2 separate regions of the Homo sapiens genome follow, and region 2 is linked to region 1. Evidence: promoter capture Hi-C in human tissues and cell types (Jung and others, 2019). All regions are on one chromosome and are shown on one strand. Each heading gives the region's core, a stretch centred on a gene start or on the middle of the fragment in contact. The rest is flanking DNA. Distances are from core to core; before and after follow the strand shown. Region 1 holds the start of PI16 (peptidase inhibitor 16). Region 2 overlaps TBC1D22B (TBC1 domain family member 22B).

Region 1 (4,676 bases), core at 941-3,440:
TTAAAAGACTTGCCTTTCCCTCGTTGAACGGTCTTGGTACCCTTGTCTAAAATCATTTGACCATATGTGTAAGAGTTTATTTCTGGGCTATTCTATTCCATTAGTCTAAATGTCTGTCTTTATACTAATACCACACTATTTTAATTATTGTAGATTTGTGGTTACATATTAAAATCAGAAACTGTAAGACTTCCAATTTTGTTCTTTTTCAAGATTGTTTTGACTATTTGGGGTCCTTTGAGATTCCATATAAATTTTAGGATGGATTTTTCTGTTTCTATAAAAATATTATGATTTGCATTTCAATAGGGATTGCATTGAATCTGTAGATTGCTTCAGGCAACATTGACACCTTAGCAATATCAAGTCTTCTAATCCATGAATATAGGATGACTTTCCATTTATTTGTGTCTTCTTTCACTTTGTTTGTCAACACTTGTGATTTTCAGCGTACAAGTCTTTTGCTTCCTTGGTTAAGTTTATTGCTAAGGGCCAGGCGCAGTGGCTCACACCTGTAATCCCAGCACTTTGGGAGACCGAGGCGGGCGGATCACGAGGTCAAGAGATCAAGACCATTTGGCCAACATGGTGAAACCCCATCTCTACTAAAAATACAAAAATTTGCCGGGCATGGTAGCAGCTATGGTGGGCAGCATGGTGGGCAAGTAGTCCCAGCTACTTGGGAGGCTGAGGCAGGAGAATCACTTGAACCCAGGAGGCAGAGGTTGCAGTGAGCCAAGATCATGCCACTGCACTCCAGCCTGGGTGACAGAGCGAGACTCCATCTCAAAAAAAAAAAAAAAGTTTATTGGTAAGAATTTTATTCTTTTTATTCTTTTTCATTGCTTTTATAAATGAAATTGTTTTCTTAATTTCCTTTTTGGATTTTTCATTATTAGTGTATAGAAACAACTAATTTCTATGTGTTAATTTTGTATCCTGCAACTTTGCTGACTTTATTAATTCTAATAAGTGTGTGTGTGTGTGTATGTGTGTGTAATCCATCTTGGTTTTGTTTTTATTTTTACTTGGAGACTCAGGCAGGGACAGGTTTTCTTGTCATCTTCCAAAGCCTGTGGGTAGACTTTTTCTAGGTCCCTATTCATTGAAGAAGCAGGCTTCAAGGATCCCAGCTGTCCTCAAGAGTACTGGTTCCAGCTTCCTGCTTCATGAACCGGTCATGGCCCCTGCAAGGTCAAGGTCATTATAATGCCAGCACCTGACTGCTAAGGCTATTTCCCTTCCAATACCTTCCCCTCAGAGCTCCTGGTGCATCAGCTCATTCAACCTTCTGCTTTTCTGCTCTCTCTTGATTTAAGAAACAGACACATTATATTTCTACATAGTTAGAGCACAGGGGTCCCAGCATCCCACTTCCAAATGAGCATGTCAAGCACATGCATTCAGAGAGGATACCTGGAAGCCAAAATTTTGCCATAGTGAAAGGCCTTATTCCTGAATACAGCTAGAGTGGGGAAGACCTTGGCCTCTCCCCCCGCAGGCAAGAATGTTGCCTCCACAGGGGGCTGGTAGCCTGCTAAGGCCCAGGCCACATGAGTGGGTTGTCTACTGTTACTGAGGGCCTACTATGTGCCAGACACCATACTAGGTGCTTTACATACATTATATGTCATTGAATCTTCCCTCTAGTCCTGTGAGATAGGTACTATTATTGTCACTGATTCACTTGAGAAAGCTGCCAAAACACAGATAGCAAGGGGCAGAACCAGGATTCTGATTTAGGTTGGCTCAGCCTTTTATCAAATACATCTGGTCTTCCTCTGTCCTTTCAAAAGCCTATAGCTTCCTCATCTTGCCCACTCCTCTGTGGGTAGGGTCTGTGGTTTCCTTTCTCTTATCTATCTTCAACACACAGTGGGTGTGACCTGGGTGCAACCAGTCACAGCTCTGCAGAGGTTACTGTGATTTTGCCCCTGAAGGATCTGTCCACAACTTAGGAACTCACACAGCTTTTGGCCTGAGCCCCCGTTACCAAGAGAAAGGAGGTTTTTGCCAAGGACTCCAAGGGGAGTGCACTTGATGCTGGTCGGGACCCAAAGCGCCCAGCCCTCCCTGAGACATTGTGTGAGTCGGGCTGGGCCTCAAACACGGCCCCCACTGCCCCACCCCAGCCAGGGTGGTGCTTGTGTGGGAAGGACTTTAAATCCAGCTGCCAGACCCCTGGACGGGAGAAGGAGAGACGGCTGGCCACCATGCACGGCTCCTGCAGTTTCCTGATGCTTCTGCTGCCGCTACTGCTACTGCTGGTGGCCACCACAGGCCCCGTTGGAGCCCTCACAGATGAGGAGAAACGTTTGATGGTGGAGCTGCACAACCTCTACCGGGCCCAGGTATCCCCGACGGCCTCAGACATGCTGCACATGGTAAGTGTGGCCACGGCCCTTGCTGGCTGGGATGGAAGGGGTGCTGGCCAGGGTCTGTCACCAGGCTCTCTTACCCTGCTCCTCATGCTGAAGCTATTTCAGAATTCCTCTCCTTTTTCTGGTCAGTGACAGAGTCCCCGAGTCCCTGACATGGTATTACATTACTTTAAATGGCAAAAACCACAATTACTTTTGCACCCGCCTAATAAAATTCACAGGCCCCTATAAGCAGCCTCATAATACAGATAAGGAAAGTGAGGCTCAGAGGGATTTGTTGGGGTCACACAGCTGGTAGAGCCAGACCCAAAGCCCTGGCTTCCCACTCCAATGAGCTTTCCCCAGCACTTCCTCAAATGCATGTGCCCTCAGTGGGGGAACCCGGGAAGTTCTTAACACCTTTGTGAAAACGGTCTTTCACATGCCTGCCAAGGAGAGGACAAGAGGAAGCAGGGCAGCAGGATGGGCGTGGGCACGTGGAGTAGGAGGCAGGTGCTAAGGAGGTGGGTGACAGCAGGATCCAGAAGCAGAGAGGGCTCTGGATCACACAGTCCAAATTCTGTCTCGGTCACCTACAAGACCTATGATTCGAGGCAAGTCCTGTAACCTTGCCGATCCCGTGTCTCATCTGTAAAAGGCGGTCAGAATTAGAGCTACGTATATACCAGTGTGGATTGAATCTCACAGATATCATACTGAATGGGGGAGGAAATAAAATCTCTAAAAAATACACAGTAGGATCTCTTTACATGAAGTCTGAAAACATGTAAAAATACTATTTATGTCCTGGTGAAACACGCAGATGTAGTAAACATTACATGTACATGCACACAGGAGACAGAAGCCAGATTTAGGGTTGGTTACTTCTGTCAGGAAGAGCTATTTATGGTAGGGTGAGAGGCGGGCTGTCTATATGCAGAATTAAAGGAGATAAAGTGAGAAATTCACCCACTTCCTGCCCTCCCTGAGGGCTGAACTAGCTTGTCCCCTCCAGCCACCCTCAGGTGACTGGGGAGGTTGCTGGGCAGTGTTCAGGGACCCCTGGAGCTGGTGCCTGAGAGAACAGATGCACCTTGGGGAACATAACAGTGAGCCTGGGGCCCCAAACCTAAGTTCTAACCTCAGCCTAATGTGATCTGGCTGAAGTAACTCTGGGTGGACCCCTTTCCCTTCAAAGGCCTCTGTTTCCAGATGGAAACATGGGGCTGGCGATCCCTGCCCTGGGCGTCAGACAGGATGACACGTAAGAAAGATCTAGGAAGAGCTCTGCACACACCCAGCACTGCCGTTCACAGCTGTGCCAGCCTGCACATCGAGGAAAGGTGGACAACAAACCAGGCGTCACAGATGCAGCTCTGCCAACAGCTCCCTGATTGAGGCCTGTGACTCATTGTTGGACTTCAGTTTCCCCACCTGTAGATCCCTGATGCCCTACAGTCTTGCTGGCTGAGACTGGGGGCCACACAGGCTGGGAGCTGCTTCTCAGACAGAGGTGCGCCTTGGAGTGGGGCAACATTCTGGGAGGCAGTTGGGATACTGAGGGGATATGCTGCTGCCTAATGGGGAGTGACATGAGGAGGAGGAGATGAGGCTGGGGCTGGGATGCCAGGAAACATTCAGGACAAGACTCAGGTTCAACCTCAGCAGTGGTGAGGGCAGGGACTCTGCAGCCAAATGGCCTGGGTTCAAATCTTAGCTTTGTTACTTATTAGCTTTGTGACCTTGGCCAAATTAAACTCTCTGTGCCTCAGTCTCCTCATCTGTAAAATGGGGATGATAACAGTGGGATAATTCCCTTGTAGCTACAGTGGTTGTAGGGTTAAGTGAGTGAATATGTGTAAAGCACTCAGAAGAATGCCTGGCACACAGTAAGTGCTCAGTAAGTGTCTGATTAACACAAAAGAGGGAATGGATCCAGGGTGAGGCAGGTGGGGGTTATCATGAACTCTTCCTTCTCTCTCAGCCTCCAGAGCTAATCAGCACCAGTTTTGCCACCCCGAAGGTTCAATTGTCCTTGAAATCTAACCCTTACCCCTACCCCCTTCTCTTTTCAGCACAATCCTGGTTCAGGTTTCTTTCATTCTTCCACACAAGGACTCCTAGGATAGCCTCTACCTGTTCCCCAGCTTCTGGCCTCTGCTGTCAGAATGAATAATCCAACACATGGGCCTGACCCTGCTCAAAATCCTTCAGTGGCTCCCATGGCTCCCTACTGCTTCAGGTTAAAGCTCCAGCTCCTGACTGAGAAGGTTCTGTGTGTTCTGGCCCCTGCCTATCTCTCCATCCTCCTCTCCC
Region 2 (4,676 bases), core at 1,433-3,932, 350 kb after region 1:
GCAGTATTTCCTGTCACTTAAGTCAGAAATGCTAAGAATTGTTCATGATTCTGTTTCCTTACTCTTCCATATCCAATCATTTACAAAGCTCTGGTGATTTTACGTCCTAAATGTTTCTTAATCTGCTTCTTCTTCATTCTCACTATGCACGCCCTAGGTCAGGCCTGGATTGCTGAACCAGCCAAGCATGTTTTCTCACCCCCGGTTTTATCTCCTTCAAACCCATCTTGCACACCATTCAAACAGAGACTCGCCCACAGAACTCCTCTGACAAAAATCCTTCCTTAGCATTCCATCACCTATAGGTTAAATGTCCAGGTTTTCTAACTTGGCATGTAAAGGCCCTGTGACCTGCTCCCTGCTTCGCCCCTTAAACTCAACAATCCAAAATGGACATTGTAAATGTAAAGCCTTGTCCTGCACCACCTCTTTATCTCCTGAGCTAATCTTTGTGCACCCTTTAAGACTCCCCTTCCTCCTAGAAGCCTTCCCTGGGGTCCCCCTGACCCCCGGCATCTAATAGTGCTATTTCTGTCACTCTGTAGATTTCTCCTGTGGCACTTTACCTCGCTAGTTGTTTGTGTTTCCCTCCTACTCTCTGCCACCAGACTTTCTGATTCTTTGAGGCCAAAGAGTATTTTAAACATCTTCATATCCCCAGTACCTTCATTTTGGTGTCCAAAATAGGCATTCCACACATGTCCAGATGAATGAGAGAATGAAAATTCCATAACTGCAGAATACTCAGAAATTAGTACAGCTTCACTAGGCTTGGCCACTGGAGGGCAGTGAGTTACACTTTTCTGATACTGTGCTGAATTAGCCGAAAGTTCTCTCTCCCCTAAGGGATGGAGGTGGAGCACCACCACTTAGTCAACAAGTCTTTGATGAGCACCCACATGTGCAGGGCACTGCTCTAGGCACTGGGGTTTATGACCATAAACGAAGTAGACAAAAACCCTGCCTTCTACTTCTAGGTATTTATTCAAGGAAAATGAAGGCTTATAGCCCCAAAAGACATGCACAAACATATTCACAGCAACTTTATACAGACATAAAATGAAACAACCCTAATATCAGCTAATATGAGAACAGATATCCATACCACAGAGCAGTACTCAGCAATAAATGAGAACGTACTATTAGTAGTACAGCAACATGGAAGAGTCTCAGAAACCATGAAACAGAATGAAAGAAGCCAGATACCAAAAAATATATATATTGTATGATTCACATTATATGGAGTTAAAAATAGGTAAAGCTTATCTATGGCGATAGAAATGAGAGCAAAGTTTACCTATGGTGGGAGGTGGGCTGAGAATGAGCATAAGGAAACATTTCCGGGGTGATGGAAATATTCTCTATTTGGATGGGGGCATTTTTTTTTTAAACCATAGACATAAACATGTGTCAAGACTCATAGAACTGTGCACATATGTGCAGTTTACTATGCGTAATTCTACTTTTTTAAAAAAATCGCTTTCTTAGTTTAATTTCTGGTGGGCAGAAACAGACAATCAACTGAAAAAACAGATATTTGTAGGATTGAGATAAGTGCTATGGATAGAAACAAAGCAAGAAAGAGGGACAGGGATGTGCCATGCTGGCAAGTGTGGGAGCAGGAGGCAGGTTTTAAACCGGGTGGTGAGCCGCCTTCACACTGAGGAGATGACATTTGAGCAGAGCCCTGAAGGAGGTAAGGGAGGGAGCTGTGCAGTTAATTTTTGATAGTCAACACTCACATTTTCAAAGAAAAGGTAGTGTGGATCCTGTTGTCTTGTCTTGCTCCTGGGCTGTTGTGGATTGTGCTCGCCCCCCACGCTCAGTCCTGGGAGGCGGCATCCTCCATCTTACATCTGACTCTTTGCATCAGCTTTGCCCAGTCTGTTCCTCCCTGTCTGGCTAGGCCAAAGATGAAACTGGACAAACTTTATTATTGTCTCAAGAGGCCATTCCTTTTCTGCTTTTTAAAATGTGAACTTCATATTAAATCATACATTTAGAAAAGTGCATCTGTCATACATGCACAGTTCGATGAATTTCCCCAAAATAACCAGCACTCACAGCAAGACGTGGAACGTTTCTAGGACTTCAGAAGTCCCTTTGTGTTCCCTCCTAGTCCCTACCCCGTCCTCTCCTCCCCTGCCCCTACAAGGGTAACTACTTTACTGATTTCTAACACCTAGATTAGTTTTGCCTATTTCCTTTTTTTTTTTTGAGACGGAGTGTTGCTCTGTCCCCCAGGCTGGAGTGCAGTGGCGCAATCTTGGCTCACTGCAAGCTCTGCCTCCCGGGTTCACGCCATTCTCCTGCCTCAGCCTCCCGAGTAGCTGGGACTACAGGCGCCCGCCACCACGCCTGGCTATTATTTTTTTGTATTTTTAGTAGAGACAAGGTTTCACTGTGTTAGCCAGAATGGTCTCGATCTCCTGACCTCGTGATCCACCCGTCTCGGCCTCCCAAAGTGCTAGGATTACAGGCGTCAGCCACCGCGCCCGGTCAGTTTTGCCTATTTCTAAGCTTTATCTAATTTGAATCATATAGTAAGAATTTTCCACTTTAATGTTGTTAGTTTGGAGGGAATTGGTGGGGAGTGGGCTTGATGCTGAGTTTTTAGCAGCCACCCTATTTGGGACTCAAGCTGCCTCCTGGCCCCATCTTCGTAGATGAAGCAGCCTCCCATGTGATAGGCAGCTGAGAAATATTGAGGCTCTTGCCAGCAGTGTGTGGAGATAGCCCAGTCAGGATGCTGAGCTGCTTTCAGTGACACTTGAAGACAGTGTGTGCGTTTGGTGGGACAGTGGTGCGTCCAGTGCTGGATTTCCTGTCATTGCAGGAGGTGAGCTCTCCAAGGGCAAGTTGTGGCTTGTCATTTCTGAGACTATAAGACCTAGCCTAGTCCTCTACCCTGGCAGTGAGCTGAGCAGGATGTGCACATTTGCTCTCTGTCCCTCATCTGACCCCAGGGATAAGTGAGAAATCGTAACAGAGGAGATGTTGAGGTAGCCAACATATTGAAGATATTTGAGCCTACATGAGTAGCCTCTGTGAACAGCTGACACTGGCAGTGGGGACCCTGAGCCTCCCAGAGCCTGTTCACATCCACAGCGTCTTAGTAACATGCTGCCCATCTCTGTGAGTGGTCTTTGGGCAGGTCCTAGAAGATTAAGTATGTGCTGGACCTTGCCTTTCCTTTGCCTCCTCTTCCTTTACTCCATAACCCAAATACTCAGAGTTTGGGCTCATATAATCTGGGATCCTATAGCCAATGTCAGGAGGCTGACTTAACCAGCAGCAACTAATGTTTGCTAAATAAAAGTAAAAGTAATACAGCAACCTAAGGAAAATAGTGAAAACTTGGTGGTATGTTGGTTTTTAAAATTAATTTTAACCAGGGCATCATGATACATGTATACCCATGCTATCCTATACTGAGCAGCCAGAGTTCATGTATTATTCTGAGTTAATAGTCACCACCCTGATTGACAGGCACAGTGTCAGAATGCTGTATGGTCAGCTAAGCAGCATCTTCAAAATAGCACATCTCCTCTGACAGTCAGAAAAACATGGGCCTTGTGAAACAGAACCACCTCCCAGTGGGTCTCTTCTCTGTGGGAATCTCGAAATAAGTCTTTCCTCCAACCATCTCATTGGAGTGGCCATCTCTCTCAGAGACCAGCTCCCCCTGTCTTTGTCAGGTGGTTTGGCTTTCCCAGGTTTAGCGAGGGGCCTCTCCACCCTCTCTACACTTACAGGTTTGCAGTGCTATTATTGTCTCAGCTGCTGCCATCAGGTACTTTCCTGAAAATGCCAGATGCATAACACCCAACAATACGTTTATATATAGCGCTTGAACCAGTTCAAAATTATTACATAGAAGTGATAAGATGAATTCTTGACAGTTTTCTTAAAACTGCTTTTTTCTGAATGAAATATTTGTTGCTGTTTTAAGAGGTTCTTTAGATATGGTCAAAAATATTTTTTTATTTTTCTCAGTCAGTTTACTTTTGTTATGAGAAATTTTTTTTTCTTTTTTTTCTTTTTTTTTTTTTGAGACAGAGTCTTCTCGCTCTGTCGCCCAGGCTGGAGTGCAGTGGCATAATCTCGGCTCACTGCAATTTCTGCCTCCCGGGTTCAAGCAATTCTCCTGCCTCAGCCTCCTGAGTAGCTGGGACTACAGGCACCTGCCACCATGCCCGGCTAATTTTTATATTTTTGGTAGAGACGGGGTTTCACCATATTGGCCAGGCTAGTCTCAAACTCCTGACCTTGTGATCCACCTGCCTGGAGCTCCCAAAGTGCTGGGATTACAGGCGTGAGCCACAGCGCCTGGCCTGTTATCAGAAAATATTACGCAAGGTATTCTTATGAGTCCGGTTCAACAACAACAACAACAAGGACCCGAATCAGGTAAACCAGAGGCTTTGGAAAATAGAAAGGCCATCTGCAGCTGAGGCGTTGGAGCCTCTTGGTCCGGCCGGTCAGGTTGAATCATGCTGGCCCACCAGATCACATCTAGAAATTGTCCTGAGATCACAGATGGTTCCTGGGAAATGCCTAGAGCAGTGAATAGACAAGTTACTCTTGTTGGTGTTGGTAAAACCAGTTCTTCCTAAAACTGTCAGGGAATTTTTGAGGCATATATTAAGCTGATTTTTTAGGACTGGGGCTCAGAG

Evidence for each region. The method cuts DNA at HindIII sites, captures the fragments that hold promoters and counts their contacts. A contact is called where the count stands out against the background at its distance.
Region 2: a contact is called between a fragment that was not itself captured here and the fragment with the promoter of PI16 in region 1, in 2 of the 25 tissues and cell types used here (dorsolateral prefrontal cortex and spleen).

Annotation. Positions count from the first base shown.
Region 1 is chr6:36,952,548-36,957,223 of GRCh38, forward strand. PI16 (peptidase inhibitor 16) reads left to right here and starts at 2,191. Exons shown (of 7, transcript NM_153370.3): 1 at 2,191-2,384. The coding sequence starts at 2,214. The HindIII fragment of the contact is 39,732 bases long and covers 1-4,676 here.
Region 2 is chr6:37,303,319-37,307,994 of GRCh38, forward strand. All of the region lies in intron 8 of TBC1D22B (TBC1 domain family member 22B), which reads left to right. Among named protein-coding and RNA genes, the nearest start is that of TMEM217B, 48 kb to the left of the region's middle. RefSeq lists a silencer at 863-912. The HindIII fragment of the contact is 4,574 bases long and covers 396-4,676 here.